Linked DNA regions of Homo sapiens: all the other regions are linked to region 5. The links are contacts of gene promoters, found by promoter capture Hi-C in blood cells and fetal thymus (Javierre and others, 2016). All regions are on one chromosome and are shown on one strand. The core of a region is centred on a gene start or on the middle of the fragment in contact, and the rest is flanking DNA. Distances in the headings are between cores, read along the strand shown.

What was found. Contacts are between HindIII fragments. The CHiCAGO score rates a contact against its expected background, and 5 or more counts as called.
Region 1: a fragment that was not itself captured here is called in contact with the fragment with the promoter of GOLGA7 in region 5 in 1 of 17 cell types (total B cells); the score reaches 6.2 in total B cells.
Region 2: a fragment that was not itself captured here is called in contact with the fragment with the promoter of GOLGA7 in region 5 in 1 of 17 cell types (neutrophils); the score reaches 6.2 in neutrophils.
Region 3: a fragment that was not itself captured here is called in contact with the fragment with the promoter of GOLGA7 in region 5 in 1 of 17 cell types (naive CD8 T cells); the score reaches 5.7 in naive CD8 T cells.
Region 4: a fragment that was not itself captured here is called in contact with the fragment with the promoter of GOLGA7 in region 5 in 1 of 17 cell types (fetal thymus); the score reaches 5.1 in fetal thymus.
Region 6: a contact is called between a fragment that was not itself captured here and the fragment with the promoter of GOLGA7 in region 5, in 1 of 17 cell types (M2 macrophages). The highest score is 5.9, in M2 macrophages.
Region 7: a fragment that was not itself captured here is called in contact with the fragment with the promoter of GOLGA7 in region 5 in 1 of 17 cell types (activated CD4 T cells); the score reaches 5.4 in activated CD4 T cells.

The regions. Positions count from the first base shown.
Region 1 is chr8:43,058,792-43,062,625 of GRCh38, forward strand. It overlaps FNTA (farnesyltransferase, CAAX box, subunit alpha), which reads left to right. Exons shown (of 9, transcript NM_002027.3): 2 at 301-386. Among named protein-coding and RNA genes, the nearest start is that of FNTA, 4.4 kb to the left of the region's middle. The HindIII fragment of the contact is 2,316 bases long and covers 1,175-3,490 here.
Region 2 is chr8:39,983,200-39,986,752 of GRCh38, forward strand. It overlaps IDO2 (indoleamine 2,3-dioxygenase 2), which reads left to right. Exons shown (of 11, transcript NM_194294.5): 6 at 2,309-2,323. Among named protein-coding and RNA genes, the nearest start is that of IDO2, 50 kb to the left of the region's middle. The HindIII fragment of the contact is 5,649 bases long and covers 1-3,553 here.
Region 3 is chr8:43,079,987-43,083,788 of GRCh38, forward strand. It overlaps FNTA (farnesyltransferase, CAAX box, subunit alpha), which reads left to right. Exons shown (of 9, transcript NM_002027.3): 7 at 3,132-3,194. Among named protein-coding and RNA genes, the nearest start is that of POMK, 12 kb to the right of the region's middle. The HindIII fragment of the contact is 462 bases long and covers 2,144-2,605 here.
Region 4 is chr8:42,901,343-42,904,946 of GRCh38, forward strand. The region is part of intron 1 of HOOK3 (hook microtubule tethering protein 3); the gene reads left to right. Among named protein-coding and RNA genes, the nearest start is that of HOOK3, 6.2 kb to the left of the region's middle. The HindIII fragment of the contact is 6,491 bases long and covers 1-3,604 here.
Region 5 is chr8:41,489,009-41,492,517 of GRCh38, forward strand. It overlaps GOLGA7 (golgin A7), which reads left to right and starts at 1,574. Exons shown (of 5, transcript NM_001002296.2): 1 at 1,574-1,957. The coding sequence starts at 1,847. RefSeq lists a silencer at 1,205-1,464 and enhancers at 1,515-1,644, 1,935-2,044, 2,095-2,204. The HindIII fragment of the contact is 7,658 bases long and covers 1-3,509 here.
Region 6 is chr8:39,963,935-39,967,690 of GRCh38, forward strand. The region is part of intron 3 of IDO2 (indoleamine 2,3-dioxygenase 2); the gene reads left to right. Among named protein-coding and RNA genes, the nearest start is that of IDO2, 31 kb to the left of the region's middle. The HindIII fragment of the contact is 7,937 bases long and covers 1-3,756 here.
Region 7 is chr8:43,096,936-43,100,790 of GRCh38, forward strand. POMK (protein O-mannose kinase) reads left to right here. Exons shown (of 5, transcript NM_032237.5): 2 at 589-680. Among named protein-coding and RNA genes, the nearest start is that of POMK, 5.3 kb to the left of the region's middle. The HindIII fragment of the contact is 5,046 bases long and covers 1-3,855 here.

The sequences.
Region 1 (3,834 bases), core at 1,083-3,582, 1.6 Mb after region 5:
AAAAAAGTACTGTCTACTTGCTGCAAAAACTTATTTTTCTACTTATAAAACTTTAAATTTGAAAACTGTTGATTAGCTTTTCAGCATCTGAGGGTTATTTGTTTTAATTTTACTTTAATAGTTTAATGTGTAAAACATATTGGCAAAACTTGGTCATGAAGAATCCAACCATGATTACATTATGAGCCCTGTAAGTTATTAATATCAATGTAACTGTAATTATTGTCATTTTAAAAACACTAGAGTCCCTTTTCTTCTGTATTTGAATGTAACCACTGGTTGGGGAATGTCTGTTTTCAGGGACAGAGCAGAATGGGCTGATATAGATCCGGTGCCGCAGAATGATGGCCCCAATCCCGTGGTCCAGATCATTTATAGTGACAAATGTAAGTTTGTTTATATTAGGAAAAGGTCTGTAAGTTAAATATAGTAGCAGAATTGGAATTCACAACTATGTAGCAAGATAGATGACAAATTTCTGTCTAATAAAAATCTGAATGACTTAAGATGAGTTAATTTTGTGTTTTTTTTATGTGTGTGTGTGATTTAGCTTTATGATTAAAAGTTTTATTTTGCCCAAAGACTGGACATATTCTAAATAATAAACGTTACAGTATAGTAGATAATAGCTACTATGTGATTGTGGTTTTCTTTTCTTTGCTGGAGACTCCACCGCCAGGGAGATTATGCATGTACCACACAATATAAATGAGTTACTGTTTTTAGAATAAACTTTGGTTGCTGAAACATCAGGATTTAAACATATATTTTGGCAGTGAAGTGTTCAGCTCAGTTGGAATACATTTATTGATATTAAAATGAGTGGATTTTTTTCTTTGACAAAATATTCTTTTGTAATGAATGTGAAAGTGTAAATTGAAGGTCGTGGAAATGTTAATTGTTAGTTCTTCTAGGAAAGGGAAAATGAATAAAATGGAATGATAGTTTTGTAATTTTATGTATATATATTTCTTTCAGTTAAGGCTTTTCTAAGATCATTCTTTTACAAAAGCATTTTTTTTCTGCTAATAAAATGACAATAAATGTTTAAAAAAGCATAATGATAGGTTTGCCGTATTAAGTGTGCAGATATATTACTAAACTTAATGATTAAGTGGAAGTAGCACAGAAGTAGATTTGTAAAGACTCGAGAAATAGATCCTCACTCTATGAAAGCTTAATATGTGATAAAAAGGACATTTTATACCTTTATGAAAAGGGTGGATTAATCAAATAATGGTTGGAACAGTTGGCTGTGCACTTAGATAAAAGCAGAGTTGTATCCCTATCATTCTTAGGATGGAGAACGTATTAGGCAAGATGTAAACCTCAGAATCGATTAAGGAGAAGGTCAGAATATATAACTGCACGGAAATGCAAAACTCTCATACTTTGAGAGATAGTATATATGAAGAGACAATTCACAAAATAGAAATATCTATGAAGAGATATTAACCTTACTAGTGATCAGAGAAATATAAACCATAACTTATTCAGATTCATAAGTACTTATAACAGAGATGTTGGGGGAAACTAATATAATCATATGTTTCCATTGAGGATAAATTAACCTTTTTGCAAGGTATAAAATTAACATTTTGGGCCAGGCGCGGTGGCTCACGCCTGTAATCCCAGTACTTTGGGAGGCTGAGGTGGGCAGATCACCTAAGGTTAGGAGTTTGAGACTAGCCTGGCCAACGTGGCGAAACCCTGTCTCTACTAAAAATACAAAAATTAGCTGGGCGTGGTGGCAGGCGCCTGTAATCCCAGCTACTCAGGAGGCTGAGGCAGGAGAATTGCTTGAACCTGAGAGGTGGAGGTTGCAGTGAGCCACGATCACGCCATTGCACTGTAGTCTGGACGACAAGAGCAAAACTCTGTCTCAAAAAAAAAAAAAAAAAATTAACTTTGTGAATTCTTACATACACCATGGTTAGAAACCCTAAAGGAAAAGATAAGTTTGACCTGTCAACCGTTTATAGACAAATATATCAATTTAAAACTTACACAGCAGAAGAAACCATGAGCAAGTTAAAAAGCAAGCAGCAGTGTGGAAGAAGGTATGTCATTTAAACAGGATCCATATTAAAACTGAGACGTTTTTACAACAGGATAAGGAGACAGAGAGTTTAATCAAAAAATGGACAAAGGGTATGAACTGGCAATTCACAGAAAAGAAAATCCCATTGGCCAATAAAATAGGAAGAATCCTTTATCATTAAGAATGACAGGTTAAAATGAGAATTCCATTTTCCACCCATGATTTAAGTGGCAGAAATGAAAACTGTCTTGATATTATATTAGGTATTAAGATATATGAAGAGCTCCATACATTTCATATGGGATTTTTCGAATGTTTAGCCATTTTGGAAAGTAGTTTGGTATATCTGTTAAAACTGGAAAATGCACTTATCTTACAACCTAGCAGTGTGTTGCTTCTAATTTAATATTGGGTTCATTCTGGCACATGGCATGAGAAGATATGCACAGGAGGTTAAAAGCACAGACTTTGGAGCCAGACCATCTGGTTCAAATTCTAACTTCACATTTTACTGACTGTGTAATCTTGGACAAGTTATTTAACTCCTATGTGCCTCTGTTTCCACCTGTGTAAAATGAGGATCTTGGTAGTAACTATAGATGTAGTAAATTATTTACATAAAATAGTAGAATACTGTCTGGCTCATAGTAAGCACTATATATGTTAGCTACTATAATTTGCAGCATTTTTTGAAAAAGCAAGATATTGGAAGCTATATGTCTATCTTTTGGAGAAATGGATAAAATAAAATGTATCATTGTCATACAGTTAATACTATATAACCGTTAAGAGGATTTAGATCTATTATAACATGAACAGATCTCAGAAACAATGTTGAGTTAAAAAAGTCAAAGTTTGAGAATCTTCGAGCATGACAATATGTTGTTTATAATTTTTTTTTTTTGAGATGGAGTTTCGCTCTTGTTGCCCAGGCTGGAGTGCAATGGCATGATCTTGGCTCACCGCGACCTCCGCCTCCCGGGTTCAAGTGATTCTCCTGCCTCAGCCGCCCGAGTAGCTGGGATTACAGGCTTGCGACACCACACCTGGCTAATTTTGCATTTTTAGTAGAGACGGGGTTTCTCCATGTTGGTTAGGCTGGTCTCGAACTCCCGACCTCAGGTGATCCGCCCACCTCGGCCTCCCAGAGTGCTGGGATTACAAGCGTGAGCTACCGCGCCTGGTCTGTTTATAATGTTTGAATTAAAAGAATAATGTTTCATTTTACCTTTTACAGTGAATCGGATTTTGGTTGTTTACATAGGAACCTGAGGCTTTGGAGCTATCCCAGCCTGATAGCCTCCCAGTTTATTTTATCAATGTGCATATGTGTATGTTTTATGTGTGTGTGTGTGTGTGTGTGTGTGTGTAAGATAATGTATTATATATATACATTTGTATACATATTTAATATGTTACCATTTTGTTTTAAATTTGAAATTATTTGGAAGCTTGGTTTTTTTTTTGAGACAGACTTTCGCTCTTGTTGCACAGGCTGGAGTACAATGGCGTGATCTCGGCTCACTGCAACCTCTGTCTCCCAGGTTCAAGCGATTCTCGTGCCTCAGCCTTCTGAGTAGCTGGGATTACAGGCATGTGTCACCATGCCCAGCTAATTTTTGTATTTTTAGTAGAGATGGGGTTTCACCATGTTGGTCAGGCTGGTCTTGAGCTTCTGACCTCAAGTGATCCTCCCACCTCGGCCTCCCAAGGTGCTGAGATTACAGGCCTGAGCCACTGCTCAAATTCAACTTTTTAAAGATAGTGTTTAGAACTAGGTAAACTTTGTATAC
Region 2 (3,553 bases), core at 984-3,483, 1.5 Mb before region 5:
AATTTGATTAATAATTCCATCTATTCCACCAAAGTCACATCATTCCTTTGACAGTTGGGCTGGGAATAGGGGCATTTGTCTACAGAAGGAATAGCATGAGATTTTAACAAACAAGAAATTCAACAAACAGAATTAGACAGATGATCTGAGATGTTAAATTTTCCTTTCACCTTAATTTTTGCAGCCAAATTTATTTCAGCTCTAGATGAAAGAGACAGCACTTTCTTTTGTGGCTGACTACAACAGCTGAAGATTCACTGAGGTTTGATATGAGGAAGAACTTCCTCAGCCATGGGATTGCCAGAGGCGATGATGGGAATCTACTTAAAAGGGTTACATATTTAGTAGACAGCCTAGATTTTAAGACTAATTTATGTGCCCCGGCCGGGCCCGGTGGCTCACCCCTGTAATCCCGGCACTTTGGGAGGCTGAGGCAGGTGGATCATCTGAGGTCAGGAGTTGAAGACCAGCCTGGCCAACATGGTGAAACCCCGTCTCTACTAAAAATACAAAAAAATTAGCCGGGCATGGTGGCACATACCTGTAATGCCAGCTGCTCGGGAGGCTGAGGCAGGAGAATTGCTTGAACGAAGGAAGTAGAGGTTGCAGTGAGCGAAATCATGCCATTGCACTCCAGCCTAGGTGACAAACTCTGTCTCAAAAGAAAAAAAAATTATGTGCCCCATTGGAAGAAGTGAGATTCGGCCATCTCATCTCTCTCGGGAGCTCTGAGCCCTGGAGTTTTATGTTTTCTGCAATTATGAATTGTGATCCTTGATTAATTATGCTTTAATAATAAAATGGGTGACTACTGAAAGCTGCTGAATCTGGGTAAGAATTTGGATGAAAAAAATAATATATGTGCGTAATTTATTCTGTTCAAGGTACTGAATATTGAATAAGCTGGATTTATTACTCAAAGAGAAAGACAGAATAAGAGAAGGTTGAAGGGAAAAATGACTGTACTAGAATGGTAGTCAAAAATGCAACAACAGGCAGGTGCAGCGGCTCATGCCTATAATCCCAGCACATTGGGAGGCCCAGGTGGGCAGGTCACCTGAGATCAGGAGTTTGAGACCAGCGTGGCCAACATGGCCAAACCCCCTCTCTACTAAAAATACAAAAATTAGCCAGGTGTGGCAGTGGGTGCCTGCAATCCCAGCTACTCAGGAGGCTGAGGCAGGAGAATCACTTGAACCTGGGAGGCAGAGGTTGCAGTAAGCTGAGACTGCACCACTGCACTCCAGCCTGGGTGACAGAGTGAGATCCTATCTCAAAAACAAACAAAACAAAACAAAACAATAACAAAAAAGCTATTAATAGCTTCCTAGGGAGTAAGAGTGAAGGGCTAGTTTAATTCCAGAGATGCGGACACAGTCCTGGGTCTCACCAATTATTCTGCTTGGTAATTACCTTTTGAAGCCTTTTAATATGCCTAACACAGAGCTAAGTGCTATGAAGAAATGAAAGAAATAGAAGCAAAGTACTCCCCATGTGGTTAAATAACAAGACACTACATGACAAATGTCAAAGAGTGACTCAAACAATATGTCCTTTAGAATTTCAGAGAAATGACATCAATGCAGGCTTTACAAGTCAGTAAAAATCTTGGTGATGAGGCAGAACTTGATGTAAGGCAAATCCTAAAAGTTGAGTAGGAATCAACTAGCTAGAATAAAATGTGGGGTTGTGGTAAATACAAAAATGTAAGATGAGTGAAATAACTTATTTATTTATTTATTTATTTTCAGAGACGGAGTCTCCCTCTGTCTCCCAGGCTGGAGTGCAGTGGCATGATCTCGGCTCACTGCAACCTCTGCCTCCTGGGTTTGAGCAATTCTCCTGCCTCAGCCTCCTGAGTAGCTGGGATTGCAGGCACCTACCACCACACCCGACTAATTTTTGTATTTTTAGAGAGATGGGGTTTTACCACGTTGGCCAGTCTGGTATCGAATCCTCGACCTCATAATCCACCTGCCTCAGCCTTCCAAAGTGCTAGGATTACAGGCATGAGCCACTGTGCCCAGCCTAATAATATATTAAGATGGCCACAGGCCAAATATTCTGGGGCTGGAATGTGAGTGGAAATGTCGCTCACCCTTTATCACATAGCACCCCATAGTCCAGCCACAACTTGCAGAATTCAAAGTAAGTGTGGATGTGTGTGTGCCTGCAGTGCCTTGCACACAAGTGTGCATGCCTGTGGACATGTGACCCTAGAAGTTATTAATATATCTGGTTTACAAACTGAATTGTTCTTTTATTTTTTTTCTCTCTTGGTGGTCATCAATAACTGAAATTGGGCTAGATTCCTGGAAATTGGGTAAGTTCTCAGAAATCATTTACGCACTTTAGAATCCAGGCCAAATTTAAAATCTTACAATAAAACAAAGAACAAAGCATGCTAAATTATATGTATAATATAATATCAACCATATAAAATGCATAAAAAATATACTAGAAGGAAATGTGCCTAAAATTCACAGTCTAAAATTTAACAGTGATTGCCTCTTCCTTGTATAGATAAGGGATTTTTTTTTACTGTATTTTCCAGTCTGTACATAATAAAACAAGTAATGTGCAATGCAAACAAAACAAAATGAAACTTTATCAAATTTCAGTAACTCCTTGAAGTTTAATTTTTTTTTTGAGACTGAGTCTTAGTCTGTTGCCCAGGTTGGAGTGCAGTGGTGTGATCTCGGCTCACTGCAACCTCTGCCTCTGGGTTCAAGGGATTCTCCTGCCTCAGCCTCCCGAGTACCTGAGATTACAGGCACCCACCACCACACCTGGCTAATTTTTGTATTTTTAGTTGAGACAGCGTTTCACTATATTGGCCAGGCAGGTCTTGAACTCCTGACCTCAGGTGATCCACCCGCCTTGGCCTCCCAAAGTGCTGGGATTGCAGGCGTGAGCCACTGCACCCAGTTGAAGTTTAATAGTGTGAAAAAAATATTTCTCATCTCACTATATCTTCTATGGGAGGCCAGATTGCAGATTGTCTACAGAAAAATCCCTTCAAAAGACCTTGTTATTACATAGACTGGAGCTCATGGGGCAGGTCTGGTCCACACATCCTTAGGCTCCGCTTCTCCTGGAAAACAAAAATAGCCTCTGATCCAGTGTTGCCTCTCCCATCACCAAACCTCAGCTTCTATCGCCAAACTCATCAAATAAGAGTGTCCAGTAGAAAAACTGGGCAGATGGGGGCACAGAAGGTGAAGACATCATTTCCCAAGCTAATGTTGCTGCTGGAACAATGTAAGTCTTGACTTTGTCTTGGTTTGGTTTGGTTTGACATTGGTTTGTTTTTCATCTTTGTCTCATGCTTAAAATGTGAAGGGCAAATATGATCCTTAGAGTTAAGGTTTTAGGTTTTGTAGATGTTTTACTCCATTTAAATGACAGCAGATCATTTAGAAATGATTCCTCTGTAACAGCCTTCCAGATCCCATTCGATTGTACAGCATTGAGATAGATAGATAGATAGATAGATAGATAGATAGATAGATAGATAGACGGAATTTGGCCCTGTGTTCCCACCCATATCTCA
Region 3 (3,802 bases), core at 1,125-3,624, 1.6 Mb after region 5:
CTGCTGCATCAAGACAATACTTGATCAGATGAGGAGTCGCTTCTTATGGATGAGCAAAAGAAGTGGTTTCTCAAGATGGAATCTAATCCTGGCAACGACGTTGTGAAATGACATTGTTGAAATGACAACAAAGGATTTTAAATATTGTAAATATTACCTGAACTTAGTTGATAAAGCAGCAGGATATATGAGAGGATTGACTCCAGTTTTGAAAAGTTTTACTGTGAGTAAAATGCTATCAGACAGCATCACATGCTACAGAGAAATCTTTTATTGTTGTCTTATTTTAAGAAATTGCCACAGCCATCTCATCCTTCAGCACCCAGCACCCTACCCTGATCAGTCAGCAGCCATCAACATGGAGGCCAGACCCTCCACCAGCAGAAAGATTACGACTTGCTGAAGGCTCAGATGATCATTAGCATTTTTTAGCAATAAAGTATTTTTTAATTGAGGTATGTACATTGTTTTTTTAGATATGATGCTATTGCATACTAGACTACAATATAGTGTAAACATAATTTATATGTGCTGGGAAAAAGAAAAGTCGTGTGACTTGCTTAATTGTGATAAAATTGCTTTACTGAACCTTCCATATCTGCAAGGTATTCCTGTATTGTTCAGTATGGTAGCTACTAGCCACATATGGCTATTTAAGTTTCAATCGGTATGATTATAAAAAATTAAAAATACAATTATTTCATTGCACATGTCCTATTTTGGGCGTTCAGTACGTACATGTGGCTAGTGACTACCATATTGGACAGCACATACAAAACATTTGCATCATCACTGGCAGTTTTATTGAACATTATTCGTCTAAAGATTGACAGTAGTTAGCGGTAACAAAGCATTTTAAAAATTGAATATGAAGAGTTTTCAAAATGCAAACGTTTAGCCTTTTCAGAGGCAGATCACTGGCTTCCTGTTGCCAAATAGAAACAGAAATAATTACCCAAGAATCTAAAAGAGCTTCCTATACTTAGGATTTATTTTCCTTTTAAGATGGGTAAAAGAAGTATTTAAAATGTGAAGAGTAGCTGTAGGTATCTAGAATTTACAGTTTGTTAAATTTTTTTTAACTCTAAGCATACACAGATAGATGTACATAATTATTTTTGTCATTTTTTTCTTTTTATTATAAAAGTAATGCAATGTAGTTATGGGGGGGGAAATTGTACTAAATTCTATAAAGTAAAAAGTCAAAGTCTTTTACTGTTCTTCATCCCACATCCCATTTTCCAGAGTGAGCTATAATTGGGTGAATTTTTCCAAACTTTATAAATACACTTGCAAACATTTATACACAGCAACCTAGATAATAATGTTACAGGCATTGCCTTTTCAGTTAATGTGTCATGGCCCTTTTTCTAGACTATGAGTGCATAGTCTTCTAGTACTACCAATAACAGCATTTATCAAGCATTTACTATATGCCACTAATTCTAACAGCTCTGTGAGACACTTCATGAAGAACTTGAGGTTCCAGGTAATTCTGTAATTTGCCCAAGAGCACATAATTTATGGGACCAGGATTTGAAGCGAGGCAGCCTGACCTCAAAGTTCATCGGTCTTTTTGTTTGTTTGTTTTCCTAAGAGACAGGGTTTCACTCTGTCACCCAGGCTGGAGTGCAGTGACGGATCATAGCTCACTGCTGCCTTGAGCTCCTGAGCTGAAGGAATCCTCCCACCTCAGCCTGCGAGTAGCTGGGACTACAGGCATGTGCCACTGCATCCAGCTAATTGTTAAAATTTTTTGTAGCGATGAGGTCTCACTATGTTGCCCAGACTGGTCTTGATCTCCTGGCCTCAAGCAGTCTTCCCGCTTTGATCTCTGAAAGTGCTGGGATTACAGATGTGAGCCACCATGCCCAGCTAAAGTTCATGTTTTAACCATAAAAATAGGTAATGCTTTAGTACACATGTATGTAAATAAAAATTTAGATATTGCCAAAATGAAATTAAGAATCTTAAACAAGGACCAGCTAAGACCTGCGGGGACATGGTTTCGCAAATAATTGGAAACATTAAGTCATGTAAAAGTAGTTGGAAAAGTATTTTTATAATGTTGAATGAGTTTATTATTACTCTGTGGAAAAAAAAAAATTATAGTAACAGCACTGCAGCAGAACCAAGACTACCAAGCTTTAGTCAGTGACTTACTCATCTGAGCAATTATGTGGTAAAGCAAGTTCTGTGGCTTCCTTGGGATTTGTGATAATTGAGTCTGAATTATATTTAATCTGTTTAAGGGGAAGATAAAGGTATGGAGCACCCATTTTGACAGGGAATCACATCACAGTTTACTAGTCATCTTGCTTTGGAATATAAGAAATACATTCTTGTGTTGATTTTTCATTTTTATTCTTTGCCTATGTAATTTCCATGCCATTTTTTAATGATAGCTAAAGATTATGTAAATTCTCCTATTTCAGTGACTAGGGATTTGTTGGGACGTAAGTAGAGCTTAGACTGTTTCCCCAAGGTTGCTTTACCAATAAATGGAAAGTTTCCTTCTTTTAGCTGATGTTTCCTTCAAAAGGAAAATCTTCCATATTATTTAAAGGAAATATTTTATGTTCCTTTTTTTCCTATTGTGAATTGAAGCTTTTAGATTAGTTTTGTGTCCTTCCCTAGAACTGAATTGACAGCTGCAGCCTTAAGGGATTCTCGTGATTTAAATATGACTGAGAGAGGTGCCACAGTACACTAAGAAACGCTGACACAAGTGAAAGTGTGTTTACAAAGCTGTGCCACAGTCTTAGTAAAACTGTGTCTTGGCCGGGCGCAGTGGCTCATGCCTATAATCCCAGCACTTTGGGAGGCCGAGGCAGGCGGATCACAAGGTCAGGAGTTCAAGACCAGTCTGGCCAATATGGTGAAACCCTGTCTCTACTAAAAATACAAAAATTAGCTGGGTGTGGTGGTGGGCGCCTGTAGTCCCAGCTACTCGGGAGGCTGAGGCAGGAGTATGACTTGAACCTGGGAGGCGGAGGTTGCAGTGAGCTGAGATTGTGCCACTGCACTCCAGCCTGGGTGACAGAGCAAGACTCCGTTTCAGAAAAAAAAAAAAACTGTGTCTCATCATTGCACTGTTCTTTTAAAATTGTATATATATATTTTTCTTGCAGATACACTCTGGAAATGATTAAACTAGTACCACATAATGAAAGTGCATGGAACTATTTGAAAGGGTAAGAGGTTGTTTTTGCTTTTTTTATATATAAAAAAGAAGTGGCTATATGATGCATCATGGAGTGTATTCCATAATCAGATTCCAAAAGGATAGTAAATAATTTTTCATTTTTCTGAACCTAAGAGCAGAAGTATAACAGCATTATGGAAACTCTCTGGGAGTTTGCCCTTCTATGCACCTCCCAAGTACCTACCAACACTGTTTTCAGAATAATCCACCAGTAAATAATGCCATTTTAATTGTATTTAAGAATCCTGTAGTCTTTATATCAAAGAATGGAACACACACACCCCCAGGCTCTAGTTGGCTCAGGAACACAGTAAAGCGGGGTAGTTTACAGGTAGATTTTGCCAGTGGGCAGCCAACCTTTCTGTTTTCATTTCTAGAGATCTCCGCCTTCAGGTTAACCTACTCCTCAACTAGAAAAGGTTTCACTTGCCTGGCCACTGACGTAACTAAGCTCCTTGTTGAACATAAGAGGTCTTCAAGGAAACTAGGCTCAAAGAGCACAAAGTATGGAACCAGTTACCCTTGGAGATGTGTCAGGGGAGGTGCCTGTAGTATTTGGAGAGCTCGAGGGATGAGAAGCCATCTCAAGAGAAGACG
Region 4 (3,604 bases), core at 838-3,337, 1.4 Mb after region 5:
CCTGAAATAGATGTTAGCTCAGAGAACTGGTATGTGACAGATTTTTAAAAATTAAGGTACGGTTTACATACCCATAAAATTCATCCTTTTAAAGTGTATAATTTTTTTGGTTTTTAGTATGATCACAAGATTGTGCAGTCATCATGACTATCTAGTTCCAAGAACATTTTCATCACCCCAAAAATAAACTAGGGGATAAATTTTCTTTAGGATCTGTTTCACTTTGGTCTTGCAGCAGAGGTGGACATCTCTGACCCTTATGAGCAACTATGTACCTCAAGGGCTAATACAGAGAAAATAATTGAATAAAGCCATGTTTTAAAAACAAAAATGAAAATTTAGCTTCCCTAAATCCCAAGAGAAAAAAACAAATCAAGTCTTTTTTTGGAGGTGGAGTCTTGCTCTGTTGCCCAGGCTGGAGTGCAGTGGCACAATCTCGGCTCACTGCAACCTCCACCTCCTGGGTTCAAGCAATTCTGCCTCAGCCTCCCTAGTAGCTGGGATTACAGGCACGCACCACCACGCCCGGCTAATTTTTGTATTTTTTAGTAGAGACGGGGTTTCACTATGTTGGTCAGGCTGGTCTTGAACTCCTGACCTCAAGATCCACCCGCCTCGGCTTCCAAATGTTCTGGGATTACAGGCGTGAGCCACCGTGCCAGGCCCAGATCAAGTCTTAACAACTAAGTTACTTGCTTTTTTGAATTACCTGCTTTGTTGAGTTGCTTCTTCTGATTGGCCAGAGGCTGTTTTCCAATCTTGCATCCCTTCCCTTTCATAGTGCTTTGGATCATAGGATTCCAAATGCCAAACCAGTGCCCAGCTGTGTAAGAATTATTTGATGAACTTGTTAAAAATAGATCCCCAGCTTCCTACACACAGATTCTGATTCAGTAGGGGGAGCCAAGAAATGTGTATTCTCTCTCTCTCTCTCTTTTTTTTTTTTTAAGACAGGGTCTCACTCTGTTGCCCAGGCTGGAGTGCCGTGGAGCAGTCACAGCTCACTGCAGTCCCGACCCCCCAGGCTCAAGTGATCCTCCCACCTCCGCCTCCTGAATAGCTGGGACTACAGGCGTGACCCACCATACCCAGCTAATTTTTGTATTTTTTGTAGAGACAGAATTTTGCCATGTTTTTCAGCATGGTCTCGAATTCCTGGGCTCAAGTGATCCTCCAGCTTTGACCTCCCATAGTGCTGAGGTAACAGGTATAAGCCACCACGCCCTGCCAAAATGTGTATTTTCAAACCCCCCCAGATGATTCCCCTACACACCAGGTTTGGGACCATTGCTTTAGACTTTGCAAAATACCTCATGGGCATTCATTTTCTCATTCATTCTGAAGCAACACACCCTTCTATAGGCTATTTTTCCCCAATCTTTCTTTATATGGAAAAACTGATATTGAGAGAGATGAAACATCCTGTCTAAATTTACAGGGCAAAACTAGGGATTAGAATTAGCTCCTTTCATTCAAAGTGGCGTCCACTGAGGGCTTGTTCGTATCAGGCATTGTGCTGAGGTCAGTGATAAAGAGAAGAATGAGACATAGTCCTCACTGCTGCCTCTATTTTTCCTTCTAAACAAACCTACAAGAAAGATTGGGTTTTCTTTTTTGAAAATGGGCCATTGACTTGGCAACTGTAGAATGGAAGCAAGTGCTTATTTCTTTTAAGTGCTTATTTCTTTTACTAATGAGCAGGCAGCTGGAGATAGTATGGAGTAAAATTCAAAATCAGTTCCCGCAGATGGTGTTTATTTGTTTCATGTATTCATTTACTAATCATTTATTGCACCTCTACCAGGTGTTTGGTTTGTGTCAGGGCAGCTTGGAAGGATCCTCTTATCAGCTTTCCCAAATAGACACTTAAGTAAAAACTTGCTATGAGGATCTTTAAGATAATTCCCTGGGCCTCTACCACCATAACCGTCTCTACCTGCAAAACTCTCCTGTATTATATACAAAGAAGCTACTGACTGTACTGTTAATAGTTGTCTTTTTTTTTTTTTTTTTTTTTTTTGAGACGGAGTCTCGCTCTGTGGCCCAGGTTGGAGTGCAGTGGCGCGATCTCGGCTCACTGCAAGCTCCACCTCCCGAGTTCCCACCATTCTCCTGCTTCAGCCTCCCGAGTAGCTGGGACTACAGGCGCCCGCCACAGCGCCCGACTAATTTTTTGTATTTTTAGTAGAGACGGGGTTTCACCGTGTTGGCCAGGATGGTCTCATCTCCTGACCTCGTGATCCACTCTCTTCGGCCTCCCAAAGTGCTGGGATTACAGACATGAGCCACCGTGCCCGGCCAATAGTTGTCTTTTAAAGATTTGATAAATGAGGTCGGGCGTGGTGGCTCAAACGCCTGTAATCCCAGCACTTTGGGAGGCTAAGGCGGGCGGATGACGAGGTCAGAGATGAGGACATCCTGGCCAACACGGTGAAACCCTGTCTCTACTTAAAATACAAAAAAGTTAGCCGGGCATGGTAGCGGGCGCCTGTATTCCCAGCTACTCGGGGGGCTGAGGCAGGAGAATGGCGTGAACCCGGGAGGCGGAGCTTGCAGTGAGCCGATATCGCGCCACTGCACTCCAGCCTGGGCGACAGAGTGAGACTCCGTCTGAAAAACAAAACAAAACAAAAAGATTTGATAAATGATACGGTGCGGAGAAGTAGCCACTCACCCACCGTTAGTAAGAGAATAAATTGCTACAGTATATATTTAGGGCAGTTTGACAGTTTTATCAAAAACCGTAAAATGTTCATACACTTTTTGACCTAGCAGTTTTACTTCTTTTCTAACCCAATAAATAAAAATTTGTGTGAAGACATATGGTCACCTGAGTGTTATTCCCAGTATTCTCATTGTCTGTACTGAGTTTAGCTTCATCCGTGTTAGTATATAAACCTACTCAAATGGGTCTTCCTGTCTCTTTCCCTCCACTCCTTCCTTCATACTGCAGCCGGTATGATCTTTTTTTTTTTTTTTTTTTTTGAGACGGAGTCTCGCTCTGTCGCCCAGGCTGGAGTGCAGTGGCATGATCTTGGCTCACTGCAACCTCCGCCTCCCGGGTTCAAGCGATTCTCCTGCATCAGCCTCCAGTGTAGCTTGGACTACAGGTGTGTGCCATCAGGCCTGGTTAATTTTTTGTATTTTTAGTGAAGAGACAGGATTTCACTGTGTTAGTCAGGATGGTTCTGATCTCCAGACCTCGTGATCCATCCGACTCCGCCTCCCAAAGTGCTGGGATTACAGGCATGAGCCACCGCCCCCGGCCAGATCTTATATTAATACAATGCAAACCTCATGGCTCACTCCCCTGGTTCAAATCCTTTGCTTACTTTATTCATAGAATAAGGTCCTAATGTGGCTTCTAAGGTTTTACATGTTAATTCTTCAGTTTTTTGCCCTGTCTTTCACCGTTTTAATTCTCCCCTGTTCTGTTTCTTCCTCCAATTCTTACCCCTACTCGATCTGTACCAAGCTGCTCTTCATACCTAAATTGCATCCCACTCTCACTTCTCATCTTTATGCCTGCTGTTGACACTTCTATTATACTGTTTCATTTTTCCTAGTTGTAAGTTCTATGAGAGGATGGCCTGTGTCTGTCTGT
Region 5 (3,509 bases), core at 324-2,823:
ACTACCCAAGTCTTGGCAAAGATGTGGAGCAACTGGAACTCTGGTGGGAATGCAAAATGGTGTCACCACTTTGGAAAACAGTTTGTCAGTCTGCCAAAAAGTTAAACGTGTTTTTACCGTACAATCTAGCCATTCTACTCCTAGGTATGTACCCAAGAGAAATGAAAGCATTAAGGTCTACACACCTATGCAAAGACTTGCAAATGAATGTCCATAGCAGCTTTATTTGTAACATCCCAAAACTGGAAGCAATCCAAATGTCCATCAACAGATGAATGGATAAACAAACTGTGGGATGGCCATACAATGGAATAGCTATCCAGCATCAAAAATAAATGAATTATTGATAACACAACAACAGATGGACTTCAAAATAGTCTATGTGAAAGAAGCCAGGCAAAAAAAGGGGGTACACACTATATGATTCAATTTATATAAAATTCAAGGAAATGAAACTAATGTTGAGTGACAGAAGGTGGATCAGTGCCTGGGAAATGGGGTCTGGGAGAGGCAGGAGGGAGAGATTACACAGGAGCTGGAGGAACCTTTTCAGGGCAATGGAGCTTTACTATCTTGATTGTGACAGTGGTTTATGGGTGTATTCATATGTCCAAAGTTATCAAATCCACTGCTTTAAATGTGTGGTTTATTGTATGCCATTTATATCTCGAAAAAGCTGTTTTTAAAATACAGTAAGAGAATTTTTCATATTTAAAAGGCAGGATATTTAAACTATATTAAATATATAAAAGACAGTGGTACTAACAGGTTGTATTAGCAGGAGACAAGGGTAAGGTGGGGTTTCTTTGGCTGCCTTGCAAAGAAATGCTGAGTCAAGTAAGGGCCAGTGGGCAACGAGGGCGGAACCACTTGTCCCCTTGGTCACCTGAGGGATGTGGATGGGAGCTGGGTGGAAATGGGGGGTGAGAGGAACGCCGCCCCCAAAGAAGAGTCGGGGCAGGGGCGCCCAACGCTGGGGCCCAGGCAGGTTCTTCGTCCTCACTTCCTGACCCTTTCTCAAGAGTCTAGGGACCAAATGGATCCATCCTTGGAGCCTGCTTTCTACTTCTGAACACAATGAGCAGTTTGTGTTTGAGGGTTTGGGGAGGGGGTGTTGTTTTTTCTTTATGTTTTGTTTTTTGTTTTGTGTATGAGTTGGGTGGCATAACCCACACGTAAGCTGCGACGTCCAATCAAGAACGAAAATGACCCCTCACAATCAGTGATCGGGAACCACCTGCCACAATCACTAGGGAAGTGACACAGCCGGGAAACTCCGCCCCTCACACCCCCGCGCGCTCGCGCCGGCCGCAGCCCCACAGCTCGCCCCGGCCGCAGCCCCACAGCTCGCCCCGCCTCTCTCCTTCCGGAAACAATCCCCGCGCGGGCGGAAGGCGGGGTCGGCCCTGGCCCCGCCCACATCATTTCCCTTCCTCGGCCCAGCCCCACAGCGCGCAGCTTCGGCAGGGTGGCTTTACGGCCGGAGGAGAGGGTGGGTCCCAGACCTGAGGTAGGAGGCCGAGCTGAGGGGCGGGGAAGAGGCTTTTTGCGGCAGGACGTAAGTGACGGCGAAGGCGGTGCGACAGCAGCTGGAGGGCAGAGGAGGCGGGTTTGTGTTTCCCGGGCCGAACCGGGTTGTGGGGGGCGCGGGGCCTGGGCCAGGCGGCAGCTAAGGCCCGCGGTGACAGCATGGGTGAAGGGGAGCGGGGCAGAGGAGGCCTTGGGCTGTTTTCGGCGGCGGGTGGGGGCGAGGGGCTGGCGGGTCAGAGTCCCGGGTCCAGGCCGGGGCTCTGACTCGCGGTTGGTGTTCCCCCGACCCCGCAGCGCGGGGTGTCCTGTCCTCGCCATGAGGCCGCAGCAGGCGCCGGTGTCCGGAAAGGTGTTCATTCAGCGAGACTACAGCAGTGGCACACGCTGCCAGTTCCAGACCAAGTTCCCTGCGGAGCTGGAGAACCGGGTACGCAACCTGGCTCCCCACGCCTGCTCTGGCGAGGGAGAGAGACTCACCGGGGACGGGAAGGGTGTGGGCGACAACCGGGCCTTTGAGGGTCCCGCAGTTCTGGGGAGGTCCAGGCACAGAAGGGGCCTTGGCCAAACGTGTAAGAAGAGAGCCACTAAGCAAGACAGGTGTTTGGAGCAGGAAGAATAATATAGGCCGATCGCCGGGGTTGACGACCTTATGGAACTTTGTTGCCCGGTGCCGGGAATCTGGATCCAGCAGTGTTCCCCTGCTGCACTCCCCCAAATCCCCACCCCGGGTTATTGTCGGCAGCGATGAGGAGCCAATTCCTGAGGCTCCAGGTCGTCTCAGTCACCAGGTTGTAAACTATATCCTCCTACCTCTCCGCGCAAGATAAATCATCATCATTCTCGTGACTGGTGTTTGCTGCCTCTGTGCTGGCCGCACTGTTTGGCTGAAAGGGTTTATTAGGTGCATGGCCAGGCGGTGCGTTCAGGCTTTCTTGGAACCTTAAAGACGTCGGGCGTTAGATAGGCCTGGACAGGAAAATGTCTCAGAACAAGGCCTTAAACTTGTCACATTCACTGGGAGCCACCTGTTTTGTCTTGCATATCAAAATGGTCATCAGGATATAGGTCCTTTGGGCAACATTGCAGGCAAAAATGGAAGAATGGGATTTGCTTCCCCTTCAGACCTAGCAAAACTTTAAAAAAAAAAAAAAAATCATTGTATCTTGTTGTAGAGGTAATGGAGTGTGTGCGTGCCTGCCTGTGTTTTTGTGTGCCCACATATGTACATTCAACCAAAGATTCTTTTGGTCTTGACCCATGTTATGTAGATTGTGTTTCCCGTTCAGGGATCAATTTCTGGTTAGCTGGAAGCAGGTTTTGTGGCTCTCTCCTCTGTGACAGGGAGGACGAGGGCCTGAGAGGTGATTAGGCATTCCTTGGGTGTGGGACTGAGAGATGCTGGTCATGGGATAAGTGGGTGTGGATGAGTCTGTGTAGAGAAATGTGTAGCAGTTATTTACAGTCAGTTTGCAGTGAGGTGGGTTGCACTGCCCGATTTCCATGGTTGGGAAATCAACAATGATCCATTATAGTTTCCTTCAGTTTGACATAACCATGGGCAGCTTCATGGCCCAAATATGTTTCTTGAATTGCAAATGGATCAAATATGCCTTTAAAAGATGGTGAGGTGACTTGTTTCTGAAATGCCATTTAAATGCTGCAGTATGTTGTCAACTATGTTATGAGTTAACTGAGCGTGACAATAGGTGGAACTATCTACAGTGGTTTGAAGAGGTAGAAATTCAGCAAGTGGCCAGTTGGGTAGAGCTACTGAATGTTGTTTTAAAATAATTTAACATCACAATTGATGTGTTTTACATGTTAAGATTGACATGGAATCTGGCTGGGCCCGGTGGCTCACGCCTGTAATCCCAGCACTCTGGGAGGCCGTGGCGGGTGCATCACTTGAGGTCGGGAATTCAAGACCAGCTTGGCCAACATGGTGAAACCCCATCTCTACTAAAAATACAAAAATTAGT
Region 6 (3,756 bases), core at 762-3,261, 1.5 Mb before region 5:
ATAACTCACCAAATGTTTGTTTAAAGAAGAATCTGGGTGGGAATGATAAACTAACTAATGGACAAGGTATCGCCTAAGAAGGTCAGCTTGGAAATTCTCAGGTTCCTCATTCCATGTACGTACTCAAGGCTCTGTTGTTACTGAGGGGGTCTAACTTGATTTTGTCCTAGGTGTTATAGAATAGTTAAATGGAGGGAATTTCTGAATTATAAAATTGGCCATGGGTTCTACAAAACATCCAATAAGCCTGTAAATTCCACACAAGTGTTGATTAGGCTGATACAAAGGTAATTGCAGTTTTTGCCATTACTTTTAATGACAAAAACCACAAACACTTTTGTACCAACCTAATAGCTATGTAACCCTGAAAAAGTTACTCAACTCTGTAATCCCATTTCCTTATTTATAAAATGAGAGAAACTCTGGTCTCACAGTATTGTTATGGGAAGTAAATCACTTTCAAAGTGGCCCTTTTGTAGTTCTTGTCCTATAATAGCATTCAGTATACATTCATTACTTCTCTGTAGTCTCTTCTCCATCTGTCCTAATCTATCAGTTTGGAGTACCACATAATTGCGGAAGTCCATGAAAAGTTTTCCGCTCTCCAAAATTTCCCTTTGCTGATGGATAATATTTAATGTCTAGAATTACAAATTCTTTTTAAAATACTCATTGAATGTTTGCTTTGTGCAAAGCACTAGAACCTTGTAAAAGATGAGTAAGGGACTGGCTTCAATGTCTGTGAAGATAGCAAACTAAACAGAGTAATTTCTTTGCCTGATAGATAAAATGTTGTGTTGACATGACCAAAGAAATCCAAAAATAAGAAAAAAACTATCTGTAAACACAGAAAAATAGAGAAAAGTTCCAATGATGGAATAAAAATTTAAAGGATTTTTTTGAACGTATTAAGCAAATCATGTATAAAATCCAGAAATAAGTTTACAGGACCCATGTCAAGGATTTAACCAAAGCAGAGGGAGATCCCCATGAGTCCCCTTTTCCCATCTCAGAATAGCAGAGAAGAGAAGCAAGGGAAGCCTGGAACAGTTGGCAAGAGGGCAGGTTAGAATTCAGTTTGTGAATTATGAGGTCGTCTGCCGTAGGCATTTACCAGGCTTTATTTGATTTAACTGCCATAAAGGAAGAGAAGGACTTGTTAAATTGGGGCTCCTCTTAGCACAGCATTGAAACCAGTCCCTATTCCTTCTTGGCCTTTTGGCTAAAATTGAGTGTGAAATCTATCACCTAACATTTGTACTGGGTTTAGGCTGGGTGTGGTGGCTCACGCCTGTAATCCTAGCACTTTGGGAGGCCAAGGCTGGCGGATTGCCTGAGCTCAGGAGTTCGAGACCAGCCTGAGAAACATGGTGAAACCATGTCTCTACTAAAAATAGAAAAAATTAGCAGGGTATGGTGGCACATGCCTGTAGTCCCAGCTATTTGGGAGGCTGGGGCAGAAGAATCACTTGAACCCAGGAGACAGAGGTTGCAGTTAGCTGAGATCACACCACTGAACTCTAGCCTGGGCCACAGAGTGAGACTCTGTCTCAAAAAACAAAACAAAACAAACAAACAAATATATATATATTAAAATACAAATTTTTACTGGGTTTAATAGTGTCTTCCTAGAAGTCATGTTCATGCATAATCTGTGAAAGTGGTCTTATTTGGAAATAGGGTGTGTACAGATGTATTCGAGTTAAGCTGAGGTGATACTGGATTAAATTGTATATGATGAGTGTCCTTATAAGAAGAGGAAAAATTAAACACAGGAACATAGACTCAAGGGAAAACATCACGTGAAGATGGAGGTAGAATTGGAATGATGCATTGACAAGCCAAGATGTGCCAAGGATTGCTGGCAGTCACCAGGAGTTAGGAGACAGGCATGGAACAGAATGGAACAAATTCTCCCTCAGAGGCTCCAGAAGAAACCAACCCTATTGATACCTTAATTTGGGACTTCTATGACTTCTATCTTCCATAACTGTGGCAGAGTACATTTCTGCTATTTTAAGTCATGATGTTTGTGGTCATTAGTTATGGCAGCGCATAAAACTAACACAACACTCTTGGTCTCTATCGCTTCTTTTTTTTTTTTTTTTTTTTGAGACAGAGTCTCACTCTGTCTCCCAGGCTGGAATGCAGTGGTGCAATCTTGGCTCACTGCAACCTCCAGCTCCCAGGTTCAAGCAATTCTCCTGCCTCAGCCTCCTGAGTAGCTGGGACTACAGGCACCCGCCACCATGCCCATGTAATTTTTGTATTTGTAGTAGAGACGGGGTTTCACCATATTGGCCAGGCTGGTCTCGAACTCCTAACCTTGTGATCCACCAGCCTCAGCCTCCCAAAGCCCTGGGATTACAGGCCTGAGCCACCATGCACGGCCTCTATCCCTACTCTTAATTGCCTGGAAAATACCTAACAAATGAAGGCCAGTTTTTAGACTTTACCACCAAAGGCTGAAATTGAAACAGGAATTGTTTGTGAGAAGCAAACACAATAGTTTCGAGAGACTGAATCAGTTAGCAATTTCCTGTGAGAGGCAAATGTAATAGTTTCTAGAACCACAGATGGAGCTATAACAAAAACATGTGTTCTCTGGATCCTTTACTTGCTACAGACAACACAATAAGTGAATTTACAGCTTTGATCTTACAGTGCACCTAAGCCAACCACCTTGTCTTAGAATGTCTCAACATACCTATCTGTATCTTGAAACAAAATATATTAATTGCCTTAGACCCATTCACTCACATTTCCTAGGAAGACATGATCAGAGGGAGCTATGCAAGAAGAAATCCAGCAGAACTCTGGAAATACAATAAGAAAATCCATATTAGACACTAATCTTAATAAAACTAACCTTCGTTCATGAATTTGAATAGACAAAATTACCAAATAATATGGAAAAAATGGGCAACTCAAAAAGAAGAGGGTAGCCCACTTGGCATTCAGGACCAATGGCCTCCAATAAATAAGATGATATTAGTGCTTTAAATATTTTATTTAGTGTATCCAGTATATTGCCTTCCTAAATTAAGTGAAAGCTGATATATAAAAAGAACTATTAGAAATAAAAAACCACACACATCCCAGAACTCCTCAATATAAACCTAACAAATTCAGTAAAACATTGATTGCAAAAAATATATATAGTGACTTAGGGACTTCCTTGATAAATTTCATAAAGCATAAAGAAAAATCAAAGAGTGCAAACCATCAGAAAAATACAAATATATAAAAAAGAGAAATACAGGTGATCCAAATTCCTTTTAATGGAATCCCATAAGCAGATGGGTGGAGGAAAAGTAAAACTTCCAACATATAAGCACAAAATTTTTAGACCTTAAGAAATATTTGAGTTTTTTATATCAGAAAGACAGTGTTGGGGTGAGGGTTGGGGGGCACATGTAAATACTCAGATAAAATTGTGAATTTTCTAGGGTAAAGAAATCTGCATATTCATAGAAAACAAAAATGAAAAATAGTTTATTTACAGAGTAAATACATACGACTGTTTACCTGTAATGCTAAATATTAAAAGACAGTTTCTTTTCTTTTTTTTGAGACAGAGTTTCACTCTTGTTGCCCAGGCTGGAGTGCAGTGGTGCTATATCGACTCACTGCAACCTCTGCCTCTGGGTTCAAGCAATTGTCCTGCCTCAGCTTCCCGAGTAGCTGGGATTACAGGCACCCGCCACCACACCCAGCTAATTTTTGTATTTTTATTAGAGACGGGGTTTCACCATG
Region 7 (3,855 bases), core at 1,247-3,746, 1.6 Mb after region 5:
GGCACATACTTGTGAAAATAAGCATGTATGAGAAGCGGAGTTTGGTAACCCATCCCTGTAGTCAGTCCCAGCTGCTTGGGAGGTGGAGGCAGGAGGATCACTTGAGTCTAGCCTGGGCAACATAGTGAGACTCCATGTCTTAAGTAGATAGATAAGTAGGTAGGTAAATAGATAAGATCGATTAGATAGATAGACAGCATGTATAGGAATTATATACACCAGTGGTTTTCAGACTTTAGCATGCATCCAAATCACCTAGAGGATTTATTAAAACACAGATGTTCATTTCTGATTCAGTAGGTTTGGAGTGTGGACCCAAGAATTTGCATTTCTCCCAGGTTCCTGGGCTATGACGCCACAGGTCTGGGGAGCACAGTTTGAGAATCTCTGATGTCCACCAACTTGAAGATAGTGATCACTTCTTGAGGGGGAGTAGAATTGGATGGGGAGGAGTCCAGAGGGTCTTCAACTCTATTTGTAATATTTAATTTCTTTAAAAAAAGATCTGAAAAAATGATGCAGTGTGACTTGACAAAGCTGGATGAATGCTTATGATTTTTTTTTTCTCTGTGTGTGAAACACTTAAAGAAAAAGGATCCTGTTTGCTGTGTAATCCTGAGAATGGACTGCAAGAGAGGAAAAACTGGGCGTCTGCTTGGGAATCTATTGTGGAAACCCAGGTGAGAGGTGCTGCTGGCTCACGCAGCGGGGTGGAGGGGAAGGGCAGCAAGGAAGGAGATATGCAAGCAGTTGTGAGGGAGGTTTTGGTGGGAGCATTGACTGCATGTGGTAATCGGTTGGTTTAGAGTTTAGGGGAGGGAGGAATCAAGTCACACACACCTGGTCTGTAACTTGAGTGGGTGGTTGGGTCATGAGCCCATGACAGAGGGAACCCTGGAGGAGGGGCCTGTGGGGACTGGGGAGTTCTGCAGTGGACATCCCATACCTTGATAGGCCAGTGAGCAAAGCATAGGAGAGACCTGGGCTGCAGTGCAGACTTAGAAAGCAGCAGAGTTCAGATGGCTGCTAGTGTCCCAGGTGTGGGTGAGGTTACCTGGGTCTTTGGCAGACCTGGAGGAATGCCATCACCTAAGGCAGGGCTTGGCCAACCACAGCTTCTGCTTGTTTTTGCGTAGCCTGAGAGCTGGGAATGCTTTTATCTTTTTAAATGTTAGGGGGAGACTTCAAGGAAGATATAATTCACAAACCATAACATTTGACATTTTAAAGTGTACAATTCAGTGATATTTAGCATATTTACAAGGTTGTACAATCATCATCACTGTCTAATTCAGGAACATTTTAGCCAAAAAGAGACCCCATCCCTGTCAGCAGCTATTCCACCCCCTGCCTCCCCAGCCTCTGGGAGCCACAAATCTATGTTCTGTGTCTGAATTTGCTGTTTCTGGACATTTCATGTAAATGGAATCTTACAGCATGTGGCCTTTTTGTCAGGCTTATTTCACTGAGCATGATGTTTCCAGGGTTCACCCATGTTGCAGCATGAATTAGTGCTTTATTTTTTATGGCTGAATAATATTCCATTTATGGATGTACCACATTTTGTCTATCCATTCATCTGCCAATGGACACTTGGCTTGTTTCCACTGTTTGGCAGTTGTGGATAATGCTTCCGTGAACATTCATGTATGAGTGTGTGTGTGAGTGTGTGTGTTTTCATAGGTACATACTGGGCAGTGGAGTTGCTGGGTCGTGTGGTGACTGTGCTTAACCTTTTGAGGAGCGGCCAGACTGCTTTCCACAGTGGCTGCATTTTACTTTCTCACCAGTGATGTTTGAGGATTTCAGTTTTTCCACATTCCCCTATGTTGTTACTGATTTTTGTATTATAGCCATCCTCATGGGTGTAAAATGCCATCTTGTCACACTTCTGATCTGCGTTTGCCTTGATGACTGGTGAAGCTGAGCATCTTTCATGTATGTGCCTGTTGGCCATCTGTGTATCTACTTTGGAGAAATGTCTGTTCAAGTCCTTTGCCCATTTTAAAAATTTTATTTGTTTATTTTTTTGAGACAGGGTCTCACTGTCACTCAGGCTGGAGTGTTGTGGCACGATCACAGCTCACTGCAGCCTTGGTCTCCTGGACTCAAATGATCCTCCCACCTCAGCCTCCTGAGTAGCTGGGCCTATAGGCACAGGCCAACATGCCTGGCTAATTTTTAAATTTAGTTTTTGTAGACAGGAGGTCTTACTATGTTACCCTGGCTGGTCTGGAACTCCTAGGCTCAAGCGATCCTCCCACCTTGGCCTCCCAAAGTGCCGGGATTACAAGTGTGAGCCACCAATGCCTGACCCTTTGCACATTTTTAAATTGAGTTGTTTTTTTTGAATCTTTTGAGTTGTTCACCAGACATCCACATGGAGATGTCAAGGAAGCAAGCCTTGGGTTCTGAGGAGAGGCTGGGAATGGAGTTTTACCTTTGGAAGTTGTCAGCAGGCAGCGATGAAAAGTCCTGAGTCTGGGTGAGCTCTCCCAGGGAGTGTGGCAGAGGCCTGAGCTCTGAACTCTGGGGGACCCCACTACGTGGACTCAGAGATGAGGAGCTGCCAGAATGTAGTTTCCTGGAAACCAATTATATAAGGCGTTTAAGGAGGGAGTTATCAATCACGGTAGATGCTATTGATAGATCAAGGAAGACTGGGGCTGTGCTTTGACTGTTGTGTTTAGTGATGTGGAGGCCACCTGTGCTGACTGTGATAAGGTCAGTTTGGGTGCAGTGGCAGTGAGTTGGAGAGAATGAGAGGACAGAGCTGGGCGTGGGGTTTGCCTGAGCTGGGCTCGGGGCCAGTTTCATGGTAACACACTGTTTGTAGTAATAGGAGAGTGCAGGAACCTGGGGTGGGGCTTGGGAACTGGTGGAAATGCTCTCTGATTGCTTCTGTTTTTCTAGTAAAATAGGATGATCTCGTTAGATGATCAGCTGAGAGTGAAGGTGGGGGAACAGGTGGTACATGTTTGGAGAAGGAGAGTGTGAGCTTCCAGCTAGCCTAAGGCCACTCGGGACACACCTATCACTTTTATTGACTCACTGCAATAAGCGAGGCTGCATACTGGCGGGACTTGCATATCTTCATCAGAGGGACAGAGAGTCATCTGAGAGGGCACAGGGCAGGAGTCCTTCGGGGCCTCTCTGACCTGGCCCGGGGCAGGGAGCTGGGGATGGAAGTGCCATGAGTGCAAATAGGGAGCAGGGGGTCAGAGGAACAGAGGATATGGGAATGGGTGGTGGAGCCGGGAGAGACTGGAGCTTTGCCAATGGGGGCCTGGGCTGAGCAGGGCTCAGAGCATGTGGTGATGAGCCTTATGGCAGGTGAGGCTCAAGGCCCAGTGTGTGCTTAGGGAAGTGGGCAGCAGAGCGGGTGAGGGACCCGTGGGTGTATCACAGGGGTAGGGTGTTGAGGAAGTTCCAAAGCAAGCTAATAGGGGTTATGGCTGGAGAGAGGCCCAGTGTGTGTGCTAATGGGGGATAGTGTGGTAGAGGCACCAGGGTGTGTGCTAATAGGCCTCTGAGGCCTCGTGTGTGGTGATGGGGGTGTGTATGGTGTTAGTGCTGTGTGTGTGTCTGTGGGGGCCTGCAGGGTAGGAGAGAATGGGGTGCTTATGGAGGGGAGGTGGTTGAAGGACTCAAGTGCTGGGTGTGCGCTTGTGGGGGTTGTGCCGTGGTGGGTGTGTGCATGCGCTAATAAAGGTCTGGGTAGTTGGAGCCCAGTGCATGCTAATGGAACAGAGCTGGAGGGACCTCATGGAGGGATCTGATGGAGGGAGGACGGTGGGAGACCTGAGCCTGTGCTAGCGGGGATGAGGATTGTGGATCTCTGTGAGGTAGGGGGTG